Regions from separate parts of the Homo sapiens genome. Here all the other regions are linked to region 1. The links are contacts of gene promoters, found by promoter capture Hi-C in blood cells and fetal thymus (Javierre and others, 2016). All regions are on one chromosome and are shown on one strand. The core of a region is centred on a gene start or on the middle of the fragment in contact, and the rest is flanking DNA. Distances in the headings are between cores, read along the strand shown.

The links. Contacts are between HindIII fragments. The CHiCAGO score rates a contact against its expected background, and 5 or more counts as called.
Region 2: a fragment that was not itself captured here is called in contact with the fragment with the promoter of PCDHA5 in region 1 in 7 of 17 cell types (fetal thymus, M0 macrophages, M2 macrophages and 4 more); the score reaches 10.1 in fetal thymus.
Region 3: a contact is called between the fragment with the promoter of PCDHB6 here and the fragment with the promoter of PCDHA5 in region 1, in 5 of 17 cell types (M1 macrophages, M2 macrophages, erythroblasts and 2 more). The highest score is 10.3, in M1 macrophages.
Region 4: a contact is called between a fragment that was not itself captured here and the fragment with the promoter of PCDHA5 in region 1, in 4 of 17 cell types (M2 macrophages, M1 macrophages, erythroblasts and 1 more). The highest score is 13.1, in M2 macrophages.
Region 5: a fragment that was not itself captured here is called in contact with the fragment with the promoter of PCDHA5 in region 1 in 5 of 17 cell types (M2 macrophages, erythroblasts, M1 macrophages and 2 more); the score reaches 7.0 in M2 macrophages.
Region 6: a fragment that was not itself captured here is called in contact with the fragment with the promoter of PCDHA5 in region 1 in 9 of 17 cell types (M0 macrophages, erythroblasts, monocytes and 6 more); the score reaches 9.3 in M0 macrophages.
Region 7: a contact is called between a fragment that was not itself captured here and the fragment with the promoter of PCDHA5 in region 1, in 4 of 17 cell types (M1 macrophages, M0 macrophages, M2 macrophages and 1 more). The highest score is 7.6, in M1 macrophages.

What each region holds. Positions count from the first base shown.
Region 1 is chr5:140,820,283-140,823,147 of GRCh38, reverse strand. It overlaps PCDHA5 (protocadherin alpha 5), which reads right to left and starts at 1,535. Exons shown (of 4, transcript NM_018908.3): 1 at 1-1,535. The coding sequence starts at 1,372. All of the region lies in intron 1 of PCDHA1 (protocadherin alpha 1), which reads right to left. The region is part of intron 1 of PCDHA2 (protocadherin alpha 2); the gene reads right to left. All of the region lies in intron 1 of PCDHA3 (protocadherin alpha 3), which reads right to left. It also overlaps PCDHA4 and PCDHA@. The HindIII fragment of the contact is 13,774 bases long and covers 1-2,865 here.
Region 2 is chr5:141,249,029-141,251,728 of GRCh38, reverse strand. It overlaps PCDHB15 (protocadherin beta 15), which reads right to left. Exons shown (of 1, transcript NM_018935.4): 1 at 2,364-2,700. It also overlaps PCDHB@. Among named protein-coding and RNA genes, the nearest start is that of PCDHB15, 5.0 kb to the right of the region's middle. The HindIII fragment of the contact is 3,908 bases long and covers 1-2,700 here.
Region 3 is chr5:141,148,578-141,151,319 of GRCh38, reverse strand. It overlaps PCDHB6 (protocadherin beta 6), which reads right to left and starts at 1,263. Exons shown (of 1, transcript NM_018939.4): 1 at 1-1,263. The coding sequence starts at 1,062. It also overlaps PCDHB@. The HindIII fragment of the contact is 6,099 bases long and covers 1-2,742 here.
Region 4 is chr5:141,314,357-141,317,056 of GRCh38, reverse strand. No RefSeq gene overlaps it. Among named protein-coding and RNA genes, the nearest start is that of TAF7, 5.1 kb to the left of the region's middle. The HindIII fragment of the contact is 2,150 bases long and covers 276-2,425 here.
Region 5 is chr5:141,205,000-141,207,699 of GRCh38, reverse strand. It overlaps PCDHB@. Among named protein-coding and RNA genes, the nearest start is that of PCDHB12, 2.4 kb to the left of the region's middle. The HindIII fragment of the contact is 2,869 bases long and covers 1-2,700 here.
Region 6 is chr5:141,266,496-141,269,215 of GRCh38, reverse strand. LOC105378199 (a long non-coding RNA gene) reads left to right here and starts at 458. Exons shown (of 2, transcript XR_001742473.1): 1 at 458-747. The HindIII fragment of the contact is 184 bases long and covers 1,296-1,479 here.
Region 7 is chr5:141,287,744-141,290,443 of GRCh38, reverse strand. No RefSeq gene overlaps it. Among named protein-coding and RNA genes, the nearest start is that of SLC25A2, 15 kb to the left of the region's middle. The HindIII fragment of the contact is 1,340 bases long and covers 619-1,958 here.

The DNA.
Region 1 (2,865 bases), core at 286-2,785:
GGGGCTGCGCGAACGCCGGAGCGTTGTCGTTCACGTCGGCCACTTCCACAGACACGCTGGCGGTGGCCCACAGCGAAGGCGAGCCCCCGTCCCGCGCGGTCACCACCAGCTCATAGACCGACACGCTCTCGCGGTCCAGGGCGCTGTCCAGCACCAACGAGTAGTAATTCTTGAAGGTGGACACCAGCTTGAAGGGAACGTGGGGCATTAGGGAGCAGGTCACCTGCCCGTTGGCACCTGAGTCACGGTCAGACACGCTGATCAGAGCAATGACCGTGCTGAGTGGAGCGTCCTCTTTGACAGGCAGGAAAAGGGTGGTTATGGCCATCTCTGGGGTATTATCATTCACATCCAGGAGTTTCACTACTACTTTACAGTGTCCTGATAATGGGAATGTACTTTTATCCATGGCATCAATATTAATTTCATATGAGTTATAGTCTTCATAATCCAGTTCCCCGTTAACTTTTATTTCACCAGTATTAGAATTAATTATAAATTTGGACTTTACATCGTCAAGAACAAGATTACTAAAGAAATACACTATTTCCTTATTGATGCCCTCATCTGCATCTGAGGCGTTCAGTTTAATAACTAATGTCCCACTTGGTGCATTTTCCAACAATCTGACATTATAAATGGATTTATCAAATTCTGGGGCGTTATCATTAGCATCCAATACATTGATCAACAACTGAACTGTACCTGTTAGTTCGGGTTTTCCTCCATCAGTTGCAATCACTAATAAACGGTGTTCTTGTGTTTCTTCTCTATCTAAGGATTTCCTCAAAACCAGCTCTAAAAAGTTCGTTTCTTCTTCATTTGTTTTAACATCTAAGTCAAAATATTCGTTTGGATTTAACCTGTATCTCAATTGTGCATTTGCTCCAATATCCAAATCCGACGCGCCCTCTAGCGGAAACCGCGAATCTGGCATTCTTGACTCTAAAATGAATAATCTTTGTTCTTGTCTGGAGAACCTGGGCGGATTGTCATTGATGTCCTTCACTGCCACCTCCACATGGAAAACCTGCAGCGGCCTGTCCACGATCACCTCCAGGTGGATGCTGCACTCCGCCCTCCGCCGGCACAGCTCCTCCCGGTCGATCCGAGAATTCACAAACAAAATGCCATTCTGCAGATTTACCTCCAGAAGGTCCCCGCGGCCCTTGGACGCCACCCGGAACAGGCGCGGCACCAGCTCCGCCAGCTCCAGCCCTAGGTCCTGCGCGATGCGGCCAACGAAGGTTCCGTGTTTGGCTTCCTCCGGGATCGAGTAGTGGAGCTGGCCGCTCCCTGCCTTCCAGTAGGCAAGGAGAAGCCAGAGCAGCAGGAGCCGGGATCCCAGACTTCCTCTCCGGGAATATACCATCTCAATCTCGTTCCAATTATGAGCTTTCTATTGCATCACCACACAATGTATTTTGTAAATTCAATTCCCAATTAACTATATATTTTTTATATTATCGCCTTTCTGAGCTTCTTGGCACAGCCAAAAATGGAAGGTTCTTTTCCTTTCTGTCTAAGGAAAATCTACTCACTGTATTCCTTTGAGGCTGGGAAGGGAGAAAAACCTTCCGGTGTCCAGCGACATCATGTGGATGAAAGGGTAAGTGTTTTATTTTGTTTTGCTTTATTTAGCTTATATTCGTCAATATTTCTCAAGTATTCTCACTTTCAATGACATGATTCTTATTCTTTAAATCACTTATCTCTAGTCAAAATATATCATTAAACTCTATCTTAAAATGCGTCAATATAAGTGCGTCATTAAAATATTACAGAAAAATACATCTAAAGTCATGAAACCCCAATCCTTACTAGAGAAATTTGTGCTGGTGTATTTTATATAGGGAGGAGTTTATATATTTCCAAACTGATAAAAATAACTTTTAAGAGTTAAAGTTTTGACTTTTCTCATCTCTATTTAAACATATCTAATTAAAACTTTTGAGTTTTTTCTGTATTAGTCAATGGAATGTTTGTATGCTATCTCCGTGTTACTCATAAAACAAATTTTTATTCCAATTTCACTGTTTAATAGTGACATTTTGTTGATGTTATTTTCAAAAACAACTAAAACTATTTTAATGGCATTCTTACCTGAGTTTCTTCTCGGAGTTCTAATTTTCAAATCGATGAAAACCTATTTCTTTATCTATAACACCTATCTACTTTTTGTATTGACTCAAAAACTGTAATGGGGATATTTCAGCTTTCTAGAAATCAAAAGCATAATAGAACGACTTTGGTAAATCGTCTTTGCACTATTTTCAAATTAGAAGCATCTAGATAGCATTTCTTCAAGTTGCTATTACTGATAAAGCAATTATTAAAAATTGTAAAATACATACCTTTGTACTTACATAACAAGTCAAAATCCTAATATTGTCTATATGACATACTATTTCACAAAATGTTTAGGTTCCAGTAAATATAATCATGTTGAAAAGAATATCATTTTATTAACCAGGCTATCTTTATATTAGTTTAATTACTTTTTAATCTCCCAACTGTTTACTGGATGGTATGATTTGAACACGACCTAGAAAATTTAGTAAACTTCACTTAATAAATATGGGCAAAAGAAAATATCACCAAGTTTTCTATTGAAGAAATAGCTAACATTCTGCTTGTATATATACTCCATAAAATTCCTTAAATATTACAAAATATCCCTTACCTGTGAAGACAAGAGGGACCAAGAGATTAGCAATTCTATTGTTGGATACTTTTACATTTAAAATATAGCTTGATAAGAAAAAAGAAATTACCAGAAAATGCAAAGTCAGAGGAAATTCACTTGATTTCTGGAATTCAAACTTGTAAAGAAACAAGATATTGTCATAGAATTGTTTCTGATAC
Region 2 (2,700 bases), core at 135-2,634, 430 kb before region 1:
AACTTATTTCACTGTCCTTAATTTTTTTATTCACTAAGAAACAATGAATTGTCACTCATGTTCAAAATTGTTCTAGGTGCTATGCATGACATAGAGGAGAATTGGAACTTATCCTTCAAATAGCCATAATCCACAAAAACACATGGACTGCTGATCTGCTTATGAATATTTTCAGGATCCATATTTAGTCAATTTTACTAAGTAAAATTTTTAGCCTTGCTACTTATTGCCTGTGATGGGGGCAGGGTATTCTGGATTGCTGCATAAACATCTTAGTCATCTTGCTCAGGATACCGTTAAGTCCAGATGTAAAAGCGTGCCTCGCATTTATCCGTTCACTTTCTGATTCTGTTCTCCAAAGTCAGCTTTTGAAGATGCTACTAGCCAGGAATATTTCTTGAAAATTCAGTTATTTGCATATGTTTGCCAGTTGTGAGATGATTGAATGATGGCATAAATTTAATTGCAGTAGTTCAGAGTACTGTCCCTTGATAACACCCCAGGGAAAACAATATGACTGATTCAAGACAGGCAAGGCCCCAAATTAGGGCTTATCCCAGGAGGCCTTTTGGCTTTACACATAAAAGAATTCAAGGGCAATCAGGTGTTATTAGACAGCAATCTTTTATTAAAAGGGACTGCTCCTTGCTGAGCAGGACTAACTATTTTGCAGTGCACCCAGAGTTGGCAGTAGCAGCTTATGGGTTGTTGGCAACTGTATTTATACTCACTTATACCTATTTTCACTTACATGCAAATTAAGAGGTGAGTTAATGCAAATTGAGGAGCTGGTTATTCAGAACTTTCTAGAAAAAGGGACAGTAACTTCCAGGTTGTTGCCATGGAAAAGGGCAGTAACTTCTGGGTTGCCATGACATTTGTAAATTGTCATGGGGCTGGTGGGAATCTCTTATGCTAATGAGCAGTAAGGGCAATTAGAGGTTGCCTTCAACACCAGCTGCTACTTCCTGCAGGGTTTTTCACTTCAGTTGTGCACCACCTGCTGGTTCCTGTCAATTTCTTCATTTTGTCCTGTTCTGATAGGGGAATAAGTCCTGCTGATCTCCTACCTCATTACTTCTCTGACAAATGCCTCATACATTTTAAGTAGACAACTTGGAACCTAGTCTGGCAACTGTGTAAAAAAGTAAAAGTAAAAAAAAAAAAATCACCTGCACCAATGAATGTGGCAATACATCCAGGGAAACTCCTGCTTTCAAGGCTTGGGACTAATCCTCTGTGTTTTGAGAGCTGTACTCTCTGGACTTCAGGCTCCATCCTCTGATGCATCCTTCCTTTTTCATTGGAATTGGCACATGTTTTTAGCTAAGCAGTTTTATCAGTCTATTTCTAGCTTACAGAGTTTGGGGAGGGGGGTACCACATCCTCCTTTAATTAGTTCTCTCTATCCCTTTCAATTCAAGCTGGCAGTGTTTCTGCTGATTAAACATTCTCAATAACCTTATTTCCTGTGCATTTCACAGGGATTCAATTTATTAAACAAGAGACTCCTTCGAAGTTATTTCCTGAGTAATTATGTCTATATTCCTGGCTTCTGCTGATGTGGCTGAAGATATCCATGTCATGTACCTAGTCTCTTCAAAGAGCCTTCTGTATGATTGACTACCTGATTCTTTCAACGCACTAGTAAAAGGTTGTCCTGATATGTCTGTGGCTTTCTCTCCAAAACATGCATCCTTAGCAGTGAATCTCCTGATCTTAACATCTGTTGCAGTCTGAATAGGGTGAGAATTTCCCCAACCATCAAGTCTGGGTTCCTTTTTGCTTCACAGTTCTTCTCTCAATCTAATTCCTCTCATTCTTTTCCCTCTCACATTTTACTATAAGCAGCAAGAAAAAAACAGGCTGTACATTTAACCCTTTGCCTGAAAATCTCAGTGAAATCTCCCAAGTTCATTGCTTAAAAATTCTTTCTACATAACTACAGGACACAATTCAGCTAATTTTTCTTCCACCATATAAAAGGATTCCCTTTTCTTCAGTTTCCAATAATATTTTCCTCATTTCTGCACCCTCACCAGCAGAGACTTTAACATCCATATTTCTACTCACAATCTATTTAAAGTGATGTGGTATTCTCTAAGGCAACATGTTTCTCCAACATGCTCCTCACTTCATTCTGAGTCCTTACTAGCAGATTTGTTAACACCATATTTCTGCTAACACTCTGTCCAAAGCAAGCGAGGCTTTTTCTGTCATGCCTGTCAAAGTTCTTCCAGCCTCTGCCCACTGTCCAATTCAGAAGCCATCTGCACATTTTAAGTGTTTATTACAGTAGCACCCCACTTCCAGGTATCAAAATCTGTGTTAGTTGGAGTTCAGCCAGAGAAACAGGCAGCAGATGTGTAGTAATCAATTTATTGCAAGGAAGTGACTTACTCAGTTTTGAAACGTGGCTGGACAAGTCCAAAATCTGTACAGCAGGCAGTTAGGAGGGGCAGGCTGGAATTCTGGGGCATAAGCTGAAGCTGCTGTCCTTAAACAAAATTTATTTTCATCTCACGGAAGACTCAACTCTGCTTTTATGGCCTTTCCACTGATTGAAATAGACCCACCCAGATTATCTAGGAGAGTCTCCCTATTTTAAGTTTAGCTGATTGGCAACCTTAATTCTGTTTGAACCTTAATTTCTTTGCAATATAACATATTCATAGGTTCTGGGGATTAGGGCAGGAACAT
Region 3 (2,742 bases), core at 14-2,513, 330 kb before region 1:
GATGAGGCTGATGAAGAACGACATGGTGAGTTCAGGGGCATTGTCATTCACGTCCAGGACCCTGACGACTAAAGAGCATTTTCCTGATAGGCCTCCACCATCTGTAGCCTCAACATCCACGTCATAAGACTGAATTTCCTCAAAATCCAAAGCCTTTCTCAGCCGAATTTCTCCTGTGATTGCGTTTATTTCGAAGGGTTGGTTGACGTCATCGACTTGAAACAGGGCGTAAGATACCTTCCCAAACGATCCTGCATCTAAATCTCTGGCTGAGACGGTAATAACCAGAGAGCCGAGGGGGTTGTTCTCAGGGACTTGTGCTTCATAGAGCTCCTGAGCAAACTCGGGGACGTTGTCATTGATGTCCAAAACCTGGATCTGAATCTCGGAGGTCCCTGACCGGGGCGGAGACCCGCCATCCAGCGCGATCAGCGTTAGCCTGAGTTGGGGCTGCTCCTCGCGGTCCAACGGTTTGTCTAGCACCAGCTCCGGGAACTTCCTGCCTTCGCTGCGATTGCGGGTGAGAACGTGGAAGTGAGGGTTGGAGCTGATTGTGTACCTCTGAAGGCCGTTGCTGCCGGTGTCTAAATCGTGTGCCATTTTCAAAGGAAATATCTTTCCTGGCATAGTAATTTCTGATATTTTCAGGAGCATTTCTCTGGCAGGGAATTCCGGGGCGTGGTCATTTATATCTCTGACTCGCAAGGAAGCCTGAAAAAACTGCAAGGGGTTTTCCAGTAACACTTGGAAAGGTAGCACACACGGCTCAGTGGAGCCACACAGCTCCTCCCGGTCCAGTTTTTCATTTAGCAGTAAATCATGGGTCTGTGGATCAAACTGCAAATGTTGTCTGTTCCCTTTGAAAACAACCCGAGCGCCCCGCGAAGCCAGCTCCCCCACCCTCAGTCCCAGGTCCTTTGTCAAGTTGGCCACAAACGTGCCACTTTCTGTCTCCTCCAATACGGAATACTGAATCGATTCAGAACCCACCTCTCCCCAAAGCATCAATAAAATGAAGAAAGCCACTTGCCTTTTCTTGTTCTGTACTTTAGTTTGCATCATGTCTATTATGTCTGAATACGGAAGAAAAATCCTTTTCAGCTCCCAATCACCACATCTACCGTCGACCCTCTCGGATGTCTTTGCAGAGATTTTTAAATTCGTTCTTACAACTTGTCTGGCGACGACTGCCTTCCCGGACACATCTATCTCAGCTTTAGCTGTAAACGTGGTCTGTATTTTTACTTGGCTTCTGGATGAAACGGAGTCCACCGAGTCTGCAGAGCTTTCATTCACTCTCTTAGCTTGTACCGCCACCACGCGTTCAAACTAATAACTTCATGAGATGTTTTCAGGTCAATAGCATTTCAGAAATCTGAGCATTATAAAGACTTTTAAGTCGAGTCAGTGTTTCTCAAACTGAGTGCGTGGACCGCATGCATAAATAATTGCTTGCGAGCGTTGGTTTTTTTGTGTGTATGTTTTTGTTTTTAAGCCAATTCCTGGGTTCACTCCCCTCTAGAACTTGAATCAAATTCCCTGGTGGTGCTAATTAAGGAGAAAGATTGAAGTGCAGATTCTACACTTCAGTCTTTCTCCTTTGATGCTTCAGCAGTGCAATTTATCTCTGATGAACTATTTAATCTATTAGTCCAAGAGGTACACTATTTAATTGTCCCAACAAACAATGCAAAACAACGAAGTTTGTTAGCAACAATAATGGTAAAATAAACAATAAATTATCTAAATTATATGACTCATAAATGGCATGAAAAAAAAAACCTACTTTGTTATATAGTTATGCCTGCACAGTAAAAAGAACAATTAGGCTATTAGGAGGAAAACTGAGGCCAAGAAGTACGTATGATACATGTATCTAAGTAAATTAAAGTATTTAAAAGAGGGACTAGAAGCAATCAAGTAGTTGTCATAAGCATTTTAGGATTCTACTCCATTTTTGCATGGATAGAATTAGACATTGTTTTAACAGTCTTGTGCATTTTATTTTTTGATCAAATTCCCCTCTTACATTATTTAATCAAGGTCCAAATATATTACCGTGTTGTACAAACATGATGCAACACAGAAAACAAACATTCAAGAATCACCTTCACCGTCTTCTCACAGCAAAAAGAACACCAAGTCCAATAAATACAGGCCAAATTAAGGTACTGTTAAAACAGGTGAGTTACATTTGAGTGAATGCCATGGAATTCAATGATGGAATATTATGGCTATATCCATTCCCATCTCACTAGTTTCTACTCAGATACATTGGAACATGTATCTCTAAACAAACTGAAAATGTGTGAAATAGATTAGTGCACATAGAAGAGGTAAAATATGCCAAACAATTCAATTCATTTCAGATTAATTTCATATTTATTGAGAGGTGAAATCAATTGAGTTCAAACAAAGTTCACTTCAGGTAAGGGCCAAGGTGATAGAAGATTAAAAATCAAGATATTTTCAAATACATAAATGCTAGGCAAAACAAATAAGGCTAAATAAAATCTAAACTCTGAATAGCTGAGATGATCTTGTAGTTCAAAATCACCTCTATGTAGCCAGAAAAACAAAAGATTATGAATGTGACCAGCCTCCAGGGTTCACTTGATAGATGCTACTGGGAACACACTGTTCCTTGAGAATGTAACAAAATGAAATTATGAAATAAACCAACAATAATAAACATATTGGACTGGTGTCATCTCTTTGCTGAAACAAGGCCATTATTTCCTG
Region 4 (2,700 bases), core at 101-2,600, 490 kb before region 1:
GTGGCGTTATCTTGGCTCATTGCAACCTCTGCCTCCTGGGTTCAAGCGATTCTCCTGCCTCAGCCTCTGGAGTAGCTGGGACTACAGGCATGTGCCACCAAGCCCAGCTAATTTTTGTAATTTTAGTAGAGACGGGGTTTCACCATGTTGGCCAGGATGGTCTTGATCTCTTGACCTTGTGATCCACCCGCCTCGGCCTCCCAAAGTGCTGGGATTACAGGCGTGGGCCACCGTGCCTGGCCGTGACTAGGATTTTAGCACAGAATATGTAAGCTTAAGCAAGGTTTCCCTCAATATCTAGGTTTTATATTATTTCTTGAGGTTTCCAAATAATATATATTAAACAACAACAAAAAAACAGTTTAGGATGCTAGGTGACAAAATTTACTGTTTTTGTAATCTAGGTATTTTGCTACACTTAGAAGATTGACACCTGAAAAGCTCCCACCATATCTGGCTTTACAGTGGATCATTTATCAAGTAGTTTATTCTTACCAAGGTCTCAACACCAATGGTGGCAGTTCCATCAATAACAGAAAGGAAAGATTCTGGATACAATAACAAAATAGTATATTGATCTCACTATTCCTGTTTCAGTTATGAGTTCTAAGTGGATTCTAAAATCCACGTTTCCAACCTTGATTCTTCTGTGCTTCAGGTTTAGTTTAGCCAGATGTGTACTAGAAACATACTTGAAAGTATCTCTCAGGCAACTCAAGTGTAAATGTTCAAAATGGCCGGGTGCAGTGGCTCATGCCTATATCTCAACACCTTGGGAGGCTGAGGCAGGTGGATCACCTGAGGTCAGGAGTTCAAGACCAGCCTGGCCAACATGGCAAAACCCATCTCTATTAAAAATACAAAACAAATTAGCTGGGCATGGTGGTGGGCACCTGTAATCCCAGCTACTTGGGAGGGTGAGGTGGGAGAATAGCTTGAACCTGGGAGGTGGATGTTGCAGTGAGCCGAGATCATGCTACTGTGCTCCAGCCTGGGCAACAGAACAAAACTCCATCTCAAAAAAAAAAATACAGGTTCAAAATGGAACTTTTCCTCTTCCTTGAAAATTTGCTTTTCCTTCTGGGTTCCAGTAAAAATAAATGGCACCACCACACATCCCAACTGTGGAAGCTGGACACTAGAGCCATAACTTTACATTTCTCCCTTTCCCTTGCTACTTTTGATTTTACTTAAGAAGTTCTTCACTCACTCTACTTCATCCTTACAGCCACTGTCCTATTTCAAGCCATTATTATTATCTATCAAATGGCAATAGCTTCTTTACCATCCAATTTAGTTTTCACTGCCACCAAACTCATTTTTCTGAGACATATTTGATTGTGTTACTACCATGCTGAAAACCCTTCAGTGACATCTCATTGCTCTCAGGGCTAGGTTTGTATTTCTCAAAAAGATGCACAAGATTATGAGTTCTCCATTTACCTTTTCAGCCTCAGCTCCGCATTCAGTATATGGTCAGTCCACTCTGAACTTACATTTTTTTCAAGGAGCTTACTCATTCTCCCACTCCTGGGCCATAGATCCTTTTAACAAGCAGTTCACTCCACCTAGATGACTTTACCCTTTGTCTGAGTCCTACTTAACCCTCAGGTCTCAACCTAAGTGACTTCAGCAAGGCTTTTCTGACCCTTTTCTCCCTCTAGGTTAAGCAACCCTATTACGGCTTTGCACTTTGTTCTTCCCTCTCTCATTTATTTGACAAACATTTTGTGTGTGTGTGTGCCAAACTACAAGGGGTGTGTGTGTGTGTGTGTGTGTGTGTGCGCGCGCACCAAACTACAAGCTACTGGATATGCAGTGATGAACAAAGCATTTAGTGTCTATAAACTCATGCACTGCACGGTCTACTGGGATGAGTATCTGTTATAACTAAAGTGTAAATTACCTTTGTTCGTATCTCCTGCTTGGCTTTAAATTTACTGAGATATTTTGCTACATTAGTGACTGTAAACTTACTGAAGAATAGTAGAAAGATCAAAATCTTAACATCAAGACATGTCATGCATGGTTCGTATCCTAGCTCAGTTACCTATTAGTTGTGTGACCTTGCACAGGTAGCAATCTGTTTACCTCAATTTTCTCATCTCCAAAGTGGAGGCAATAATACTACCTACCTCATAGGGTTATTGGGCTGTTGGCTGCTGGCTGCTGAATCATATAAATGACTTATTTAGAACAATGCCTGGAACATAGTAAGTAAACAACAGAAGTAAATTTACCACTATTACAACCCATTAAGGTATGGACCATAACAGATACTAAATAATTAAAGAGTGACTGAAATGTTAGAAAAAGTGTTTATAGGGAAACAACTATTCTAAATGTAATTGTTTTCAAATTTAAGAAATTTTAGAGATCAGTTTCAACCAAATTCAGATGGGAAAAAAAATTCTAAATGAAAGCTTATAAATTAGGTTACAGCAGAAACGGTTTGCTTCAAATTTATCTGCAGCATAAACAAATTTACTCAGCTCTTTCCTCCTACAGTTTAGCACTTACAGTTCTCTTTTCTTGGAATAGTCACCAGATATTCTCATGGATAGCTTTTTGTCACTGAAGGCCCAACTCAACCCTTATTTTCTCTGGTAACCCTATCTGGCCATTCAATCTAATTCTTAAGAAGCATGTGATTTAGATGTTTCATCATGTCAGGTGCTATGTCAAGTGCAGTGGTCTTCA
Region 5 (2,700 bases), core at 183-2,682, 380 kb before region 1:
GAAGGTTTCAGTCCTAGCCAAAGTACCTCATTGGTACAAAATGAGGGAGACTGTTTGCAACAGATGCTAAGGGCTCATCAGTGATATTCACTATAGAAAGTCTTAAAGTGCACTAAGAATGGATGGGAGAAGAATCCAACAAGTCTGCATTTTAAAATGTTAAATTCAATTAATATTCTTAAAAATGTAAGCTGGATACATGGTTGAAATAGTAATTGGTACAGAAGGGTAAAACTTGAAAAGTAGATGAATTGAGCACACACAATTAACCTCTCTTTTTAAAAAAAAATATGCACTAAAATGGCAGAAAAGTAATTAAAATGGTAGGAACTAACAAAGATTAAGAATACACAAGTGAACACATACATTTTTCTATGACAGAAAGCAGGTGGAAGAGCAATTAACTTAGCAGTTCCAAAAAGTGCCCCTAAAGTAAAGTTCCTGCATTGAAGATACTCACAAGAAACATAATCTCTTTTAAGCGCAAGATCTGGAGGAACCAGATGTTTAAGAAGACTGAAGTCAGTTAAGGATGGAAAAAAGTTATTAGTTGGAAGTATGTGTAGAGGATAATTGAATTCTCTGTTCTTCTCATCACCCTACATAGATGGAAACATAACTCACAGCCAGAAAATAGAAAGTTTATTCTCTGGAGAAATTTAATGGGACTTTCTCTAGTCTTGGGGATCTAGGCACAGCTGAGCACAAGTGTGAGGTGTCAAACTGAAAATAGGGAGAGTAAGCAAACCTTTGCATTTTGCATGGTGAGACTTCTAATCCCTTTTCATGCAATACTCTTAGACTGTAGGACACAAAGTGTATGCCTGACCCCTAGTCTATCCCCATAGTGTATATTGTAGAATTCTAACCTGGAGAATATGAAAGCCCAAATGAAGACACATATTAATATTTGGCATCTCATAAGGTAATAGACTTATCCTAGCATGGTTATATTAGAATGAAGCCCTGCCATCAACAGGTACTGTTCGCTCACAGAGTTGATTGTCAGCATTTTGATATATCATCCTTCTAAAATACGAGAAGATAGCCAAGGCATTTGAGGAAATGCCTGCAACATAACATAGAAAGACCAAAACTACCACCATCGCTACCATCAAGAAAAAAAAAAGGAACAATAATATAGAAAGCAGAAGAAAGCCTTTGAAAATGTCTGGTTAATATTCCCAGAGAAAGAAAATCTAATAAAAGCTAATACTTATTTAGTATTTACTCTATGCTACTCATTGTTCTAAGTGCCTCATAATGCATTTATCCATTTAATCTAAATAGTAGCTGTATGAAGTATGTATTTATCCACTTAATCTAAATAGTAACTATATGAAGTACATATTCCTATTGTAAGATGAAGACTAGATTAGGACTTCAGTGCTTTTTACTAGCTATATTACCTTGGACAAGTTCTTAACTCCCCTTAGACTCACTTTCACTTTTAAAATGGATATATAATAATGATACTGCCTAATGCATTTTTAAAGAAAAGATTAATTATAAATGAGAGAAAATATTACATTTATAAATCTATGACAGGATGCCATGAAAAACATTCAGAGAACCAAAAACAACTCTTAAAAGTAAATATTTTTCAGTCATAAAGAAAAACTTATACATAAAACATTGAGTGATTAAATAAATTGTCCAAAAAATGGAATGAGAGGCAAAGAGAAAATAAGAAAGGAAAAATGGCTTATAGTCTTATAGAGTCAATCTAGGAGGTCTAATATTTAACTGAGATTTTCATTGAAGTGAGAATCCAGAAAACTCAGAGGAGAAATTATGAGTAAAACATACCAAGGAAATTCCTTTTAACAAATTGTTTTTGTGTAGAGATAGGTTCCCACTATGTTGCCCAGGGTGGTCTCAAACTCGGGGCCTCAAATAATCCTGCCTCAGCTTCCCAAAGTACTGGGATTGCAGGTGTGAGTCACCATGCCCAACCAAAATTTCTCAGAAATAAAATTGATAGTCTGAACATTAGCCAAGGGGTCTAGCACATGCCTGTAGTCCCAGCAACTTGGAAGGCTGAGGCAGAAGTAGCTCTCGAGTTAGAGCTTGCAGGGTGCTGTGATTGTGCCTGTGAATAGCCACTGCACTCCAGCCTGGGTAACACAGTGAGACATCATCTTAAAAAAAAAAGAAAAGTTAAACATGAACAGGGCATAGCGATATAACCAGATTAATCAATAAAGAGCCAGTACTAAGGTATTTTCAGAAGACCAGGGGAATTTTTTTCAATGCTCACAGAAAGAAAGAAAAAAAGGGGGGGAATCACATAAAAAGACATAGGAATCAGAATGGAATCAGTCTTCTGAACAGCAATTCTATATGCAGTCAATAAAAGGAGCAGTGCTTTTGAAATCTGAGGGAAAATTATTTTCAACCTAGAATGTTATGCCCAAACTATCAATCAAATAAAAAAAAAGAAAATAACAAAGCAAGCTCTCAAAAAGTTTTATTTCCTCTGTATCCATTTTTATGAAGGTACTGAGAGATGTGCATCAACAAAATAAGTGAGTAAACTAAGAAAGAAGAATGTACTGGATCTTATAAAAAAGGACCAACAAAGAAAAATATTTTTTAAAGTCCTAGGGTGACAGCCTATAGAGCAACCAGTATGAATGAAGTAGAGATCTGGGTGCAAGATCACCAAGAAATAAACATAATTGACAGGTATCTGATATA
Region 6 (2,720 bases), core at 138-2,637, 450 kb before region 1:
AACTTCAGAGAGGACAGTTCCTTAAATTGTTGTGGGGCTTACTTATCTCCTCTTCTGCCATACATACGTCTTACGAAGGCATCTAGGGCACATGTTACTTGCTATTGAAGAGGTACAATCAGCATGATCCCATTAGCGTGCTGGAAAAATGTGATGTCCTATGGGATGGTGAGATAATTAGAACCTTGTATGACTCTCAGAGGAGCAGGAGCACCCCTAACATTTGTGATACCTAGGGCAAGAATAAAAATAGAGATTTATTTTCCCAGCTACTCGGGAGGCTGAGGCAGGAGAATGGCGTGAACCCGGGAGGCGGAGCTTGCAGTGAGCCGAGATAGCGCCATTGCAGTCCGGCCTGGGCGAAACGAAAGAGCCAGACTCCGTCTCAAAAAAAAAAAAGAAAAAAGAAAAAAAAATAGAGATTTATTTTCCTGAGTCTTTGTTTTTTTTTTTTGTTTTTGTTTTTTTTTCCTCTACACTATTGAAACTGTGCCCCAAAGAGTTAAAGAAACCAGTAACTAACAGAAATTCTTGAGTTTTCATAATGGCAGATAAGAAACAACTTGCTGAAACACTGAGACTCCCTCTGCTTAAAAGAAATGAACTGGCTGAAATCGGTTGTAACCTAGATAGATAAATGGAGTTTGCACAGAATGAGCTTGCTGAGATCGCAGCCTGAGTTTCCACCACAGGTTTCATACTAACTCCCCCGAATTCGCACAAAGACCCTTGCGGAGGCATGAAGAGGTAAGTGCACATGCCCAAGGACTTCCCATGCCTCCCCTTTCCTTCCGCTAATCACCGCTCTCAGAATCTGCCCCCTAAATCTTTTCTTTTTCTTTTCTTCCTTTGTTTCTTTTTTTTTTTTTTTTTTTGAGACGGAGTCTTACTCAATCGCCCAGGCTGGAGTGCCGTGGTGTGATCTCCGCCCATTGCAACCTCCACCTCCCGGGTTCAAGTGATTCTCCTGCCTCAGCCTCCTGAGTAGCTGGGATTACAGGCGCACGCCACCACGCCTGGCTAATTTTTGTATTTTTAGTAGAGGCAGGGTTTCACCATGTTGGCCAGGCTGGTCTCAAACTCCTAACCTTAGGTAATCCACCCGCCTCGGCCTCCCAAAGTGTTGGGATTACAGGCGTGAGCCACCACGCCCAGCCCCGTAAAGCATTTCTAACAAAATTACTGCCTGAAAGCCAGCATGGGAAGACACTTGACGTTTACTCCTGTCTCCTTGGGAATCCATTTTCTTTCCTTTGTGTGTTTGTTGCTATAACAAAGACTTTCAATATAAAGCTTTTCTTTTCTCAAAAATGCAGTGTCATATTATTGGCTTCTAGCATATCAGGTAGTGAGTCCCTTTTGCTGGATAACATTATCCTAAGGCATTATTAGCATCTTAATTTCCTTTGTTAAATTGTGGCTGTCATTGAATTGAGTCAGCTGACCAAAAGAACTATTAGAGATAATCATGTGAAAGCTTGAACACTGAATTCAGAATCTCTGGCAAACGAACCCACCTAAATTCAACTCAATCTAAAGGTTTTTTCTTTGTTTTCTGTTATAGCATACTCAGTTCTCAAACATATTCCTAAGGTTTCTGTGATGTAGTTAGCAAAATTATGCAATTCTTTCAGTATATATGCCTTCTAATATTGGGACTGGCTTTGTGCTTGTCCCCATTGAACATGCTAGGATATGAATCTAATTAGAGGTCTAGAGGCAATGAGAGTTGGCAAATGAAGGGCATGGAGAAAATTAGCAACCCTTTGCAATGTAACTGTCTCAGCTGAGGTCATTACAGACTATGCATGCAAAGAGGACAGTCTTATTAAAAAGGAAAATGAGTTTGCTTCTGCTGGGATAAAAAAGGGCTCAATTGGTTTGGGGATTCAAGATACAATCACATCTGAATTCACCTAGCTGTCCCCATTCCCATTCTAAGGATACTACTCTTTCTGGATCAATGCTCTAGCAATTTCATTAAAAAACATGCAGTGGTTGTGAATTCAACTTTGTAATTATTTATCAACCTGAAGAATCAGACTTTTTGTCTGATTTTTATCTATGTAGTCCTGTAGCCGTGGGATAAAAGAGATGTTTTTAAAGCAATCATTAAAATATTTGATTTTCATATCTTTCCTGACCCAAGAATTTTAAAACCCTAAGTTCGTTATTTTCTTTAATTGAATTCTCGATTGCAGTCAAAAGTAATCACCACATCCCCTGAACCTTTCTCTTCCCCACCATAATGCTTTGGTACACCAGCCACTTTGCTTACCAGAGAATTACCTTCAATAAGCAATTAATTCCAGACAAACACAAGTGATAACCTGAGTAAATGTTTTGCTGTTGCTTACCAGGGACTACCAATATCTTATTTTCTAGAGGATATGGGACTATCATTGCCTTTGATCTATCTAGGTCATATAATCTATCCTAAATTTCATTCTTCGGTGTTTGTTGCCTGCAAATTCTGGTACAAAATATATTTTTGGGGCTCAGGGCACATAACAAAAACAACTCTAATCAGTTTAAGCAGAAAAATATTTAACAGAGATAATTAGATTTTTATAGCATCATTGGAATGTGTGGATAAGTGGAACTCAGGAACTATTGAGTTCCAAGAACAACTTGCTACACCTGTGACCCAGGGTTAGTAGGCCACTTCTACTGTTGCTACCACCTCTCAATACCCACACAGTTGCTCCTAGATACAGGAA
Region 7 (2,700 bases), core at 39-2,538, 470 kb before region 1:
TACCAAGTTGCCAAAGTTATACTGATCTACTCCAATAAAGATACCACATCTGGCATGACAGCTGCAATTGGAGCTACCATTTGGTTAAGTAAGTATATTGCAGTCCATTGTCATCACAACAATCTATCTAGTTTTTGCAGAGGGTGAACAAATGAATTAAATGAGAATTTGATGAGGACTATCACCTCTGTGCACTTTAAGCCTCAGGAGGTAGTGTTAATCTCTAAAAATCCTCCTAGGATGCAGCATTACTTATGATTTACTATCTTGGCTAGGGAAAGGGACATTTCAGGGTTTCCACTATAATGTGTCTTACTCTCTTATTTGTCAGAGAATAAATACAAAGGTTTGGCGTCAGAGGGTCCCAAGACCCCAGGTTTGGTAATTTTCTAAGACTCACAAAACTCAGCATGTAGTCATACTCGTGGCTATGATTTGTTACAGTAAAGGGATACAAGGCAAACTCAGCTAGGGGAAAAGGTATATCAGATAAAGTCTGGAGGAAACTAGGTATAAACTTCCAAGAATCCTCTCCCATTGGAGTCACACAGAATATGATTAAATCCTCCAGCATCAAATTGCACCAACAGGTGTAAAGTGTTATCTACCAGGCAAGCTTGCCTAAACCTAGGAATCCAGGGTTTTTATTGGGGACTGGTCATGTGGGCCTCTTCTGCCTAGTAGGTAGCAAAATCCCAGATTCCCCGAAGGAAAGCAGGTGTTCAGCATAAGCCACGTTGTTTGTATATACAGTTTAGGCACAGCAAACCACTTTTATCAGTTATGAAATGATGCAGACAATCTCAGAATCCAAGTCCCAAATGCAAGCCAAGGGCCTACCTTGTAAGCAGGGCCTTCGACGGCTTAGTAGTCTCAGGTCTGTTATATTAACTCTTTTCTTCTACCCACTTGGTCATTGTCCAAGGCATTTTTTACAAAAAGATTATTATCAATAGGATCCCACATGGCAGGGTGAGATCAGCCTACATTATTGGCCTCAGTTATGTCCTCCATGGCTTCTAGATTTGGCCAATTAAAACAAATCCTGGGAACAGGCACAGTGGTTCACGCCTGTAATCCCAGCACTTTGGGAGGCCAAGGTGAGTGGATCACCTGAGGTCAGGAGTTCAAGACTAGCCTGACCAACATGGTGAAACCCCGTCTCTACTAAATACAAAAAATTAGCCGGGTGTGGTGGCACATGCCTGTAATCCCGGCTACTCGGGAGGCTGAGGCAGGAGAATTGCTTGAACCCAGGAGGCAGAGGTTGCAGTGAGCCAAGATTGTGCCATTGCACTCCAGCCTGGGCAACAAGAGTGAAACTCTGTCTCAAAAAACAAAACAAAACAAAAAATCCCATTAACCATAAAGGTCTATCTTAGAAAGCCAGGTGTCTTTCTCCTTTAGTTTTTATATTAACCTTTTTTTTTCTTTTAATCTGGCCCAAGGCATCAACTCAGGCACAGCACATCTCTGACCAGTAAGTTAAAGTTAATCCGAATGCCTTGTAGGGCTGAGACAGTGTCATGATAGTCAGGGTACCCACAAAAGAAATATAAGCCCAGAGGGCACACACAGTACCCCTGGAAACAATGAGTTTACAGTTGTTAGGACACCCCAAGCAGGACATACAGTAGTCAGGCAATAAGGTTAAGAAGACCTCTAATGTAACCTTCCACTGTGGGCCCTCCTGCTCCAGGATTCTCAGTGCAGTCCAAATAACACAGGTCAGTCCTTAGATTCATAACGACTGCCTGAGGCAGTCAGTTCCAAACAGTTTTGTTCATGCATAATATCACTTCATCCATCTCATAAGTGTGGGTGACATCTGGAAGTGTTCCTCTGCCGTCTCATAGTCACCTGTGACCATGGGCTCAGCAATCTGTTTGAATTCAGAGTGCTCGCAGCAGCTTGGAAAGCCAGCATGGGGACTTCTCCTTCAAGAAGGGGGTAAAGCTTCCAGGAGCAGTTCTGAAAAACAAAAATCATTAACACCCTAACCTCTCCCTGTGCCTCCCAGGGGCTGGGTGTGGTTTCTCCATTGTTACAAAATCAGTGTGTCCCATTCACAATTATAACTTTATATTTTCAATCATCTCCTACTCACTAGGGCCTTTCATCCAGAAGGGTTATAAGCAAGAGGGAAAAAAGCATTTTCACAGAAAAACATTTTTACACAACTTAAGCAGAAAGACACATCATGGTAAGGAATTGGTCACAATGACCTGAATTTTCTAAGATTTTTCAAATTAAGTTTACACAGACTCTTATCCCTTTAGTCACAATCATTTATCCAGTGGCCAGCCTACCATCCCAGAGAAGAGCAGTTCCTTTTTGGGGACAGCTGCATTTAACAATCAAATTGTCTTAATATTCCAGTAAAAAGGTGAAGGAAGTAGATTCAGGCTGTAAGTCAATTGTTGCAAGTTGCAACCAATCCAGAAATCTAAACACAAATCTACAGCAGTGGGACTTTCTCCAGAGGAGGTCCAGAGTCTGATCTGTCAGGAATGGGGAGAGGGGTTACAGTCACTGTGATGTGCCCAGTCCTAAAGTGCAATTAGGAATGCAACCAGTCTCTGTATATCTCTCTGTATCAGAAATATAGAGCCAATCAGCACCTCAATTTTAGATGGCTCCATCAGAGAATAACCCCTTTCCCATGGGCATCTGACCACCATAGATGGTCCAGCCAGTATT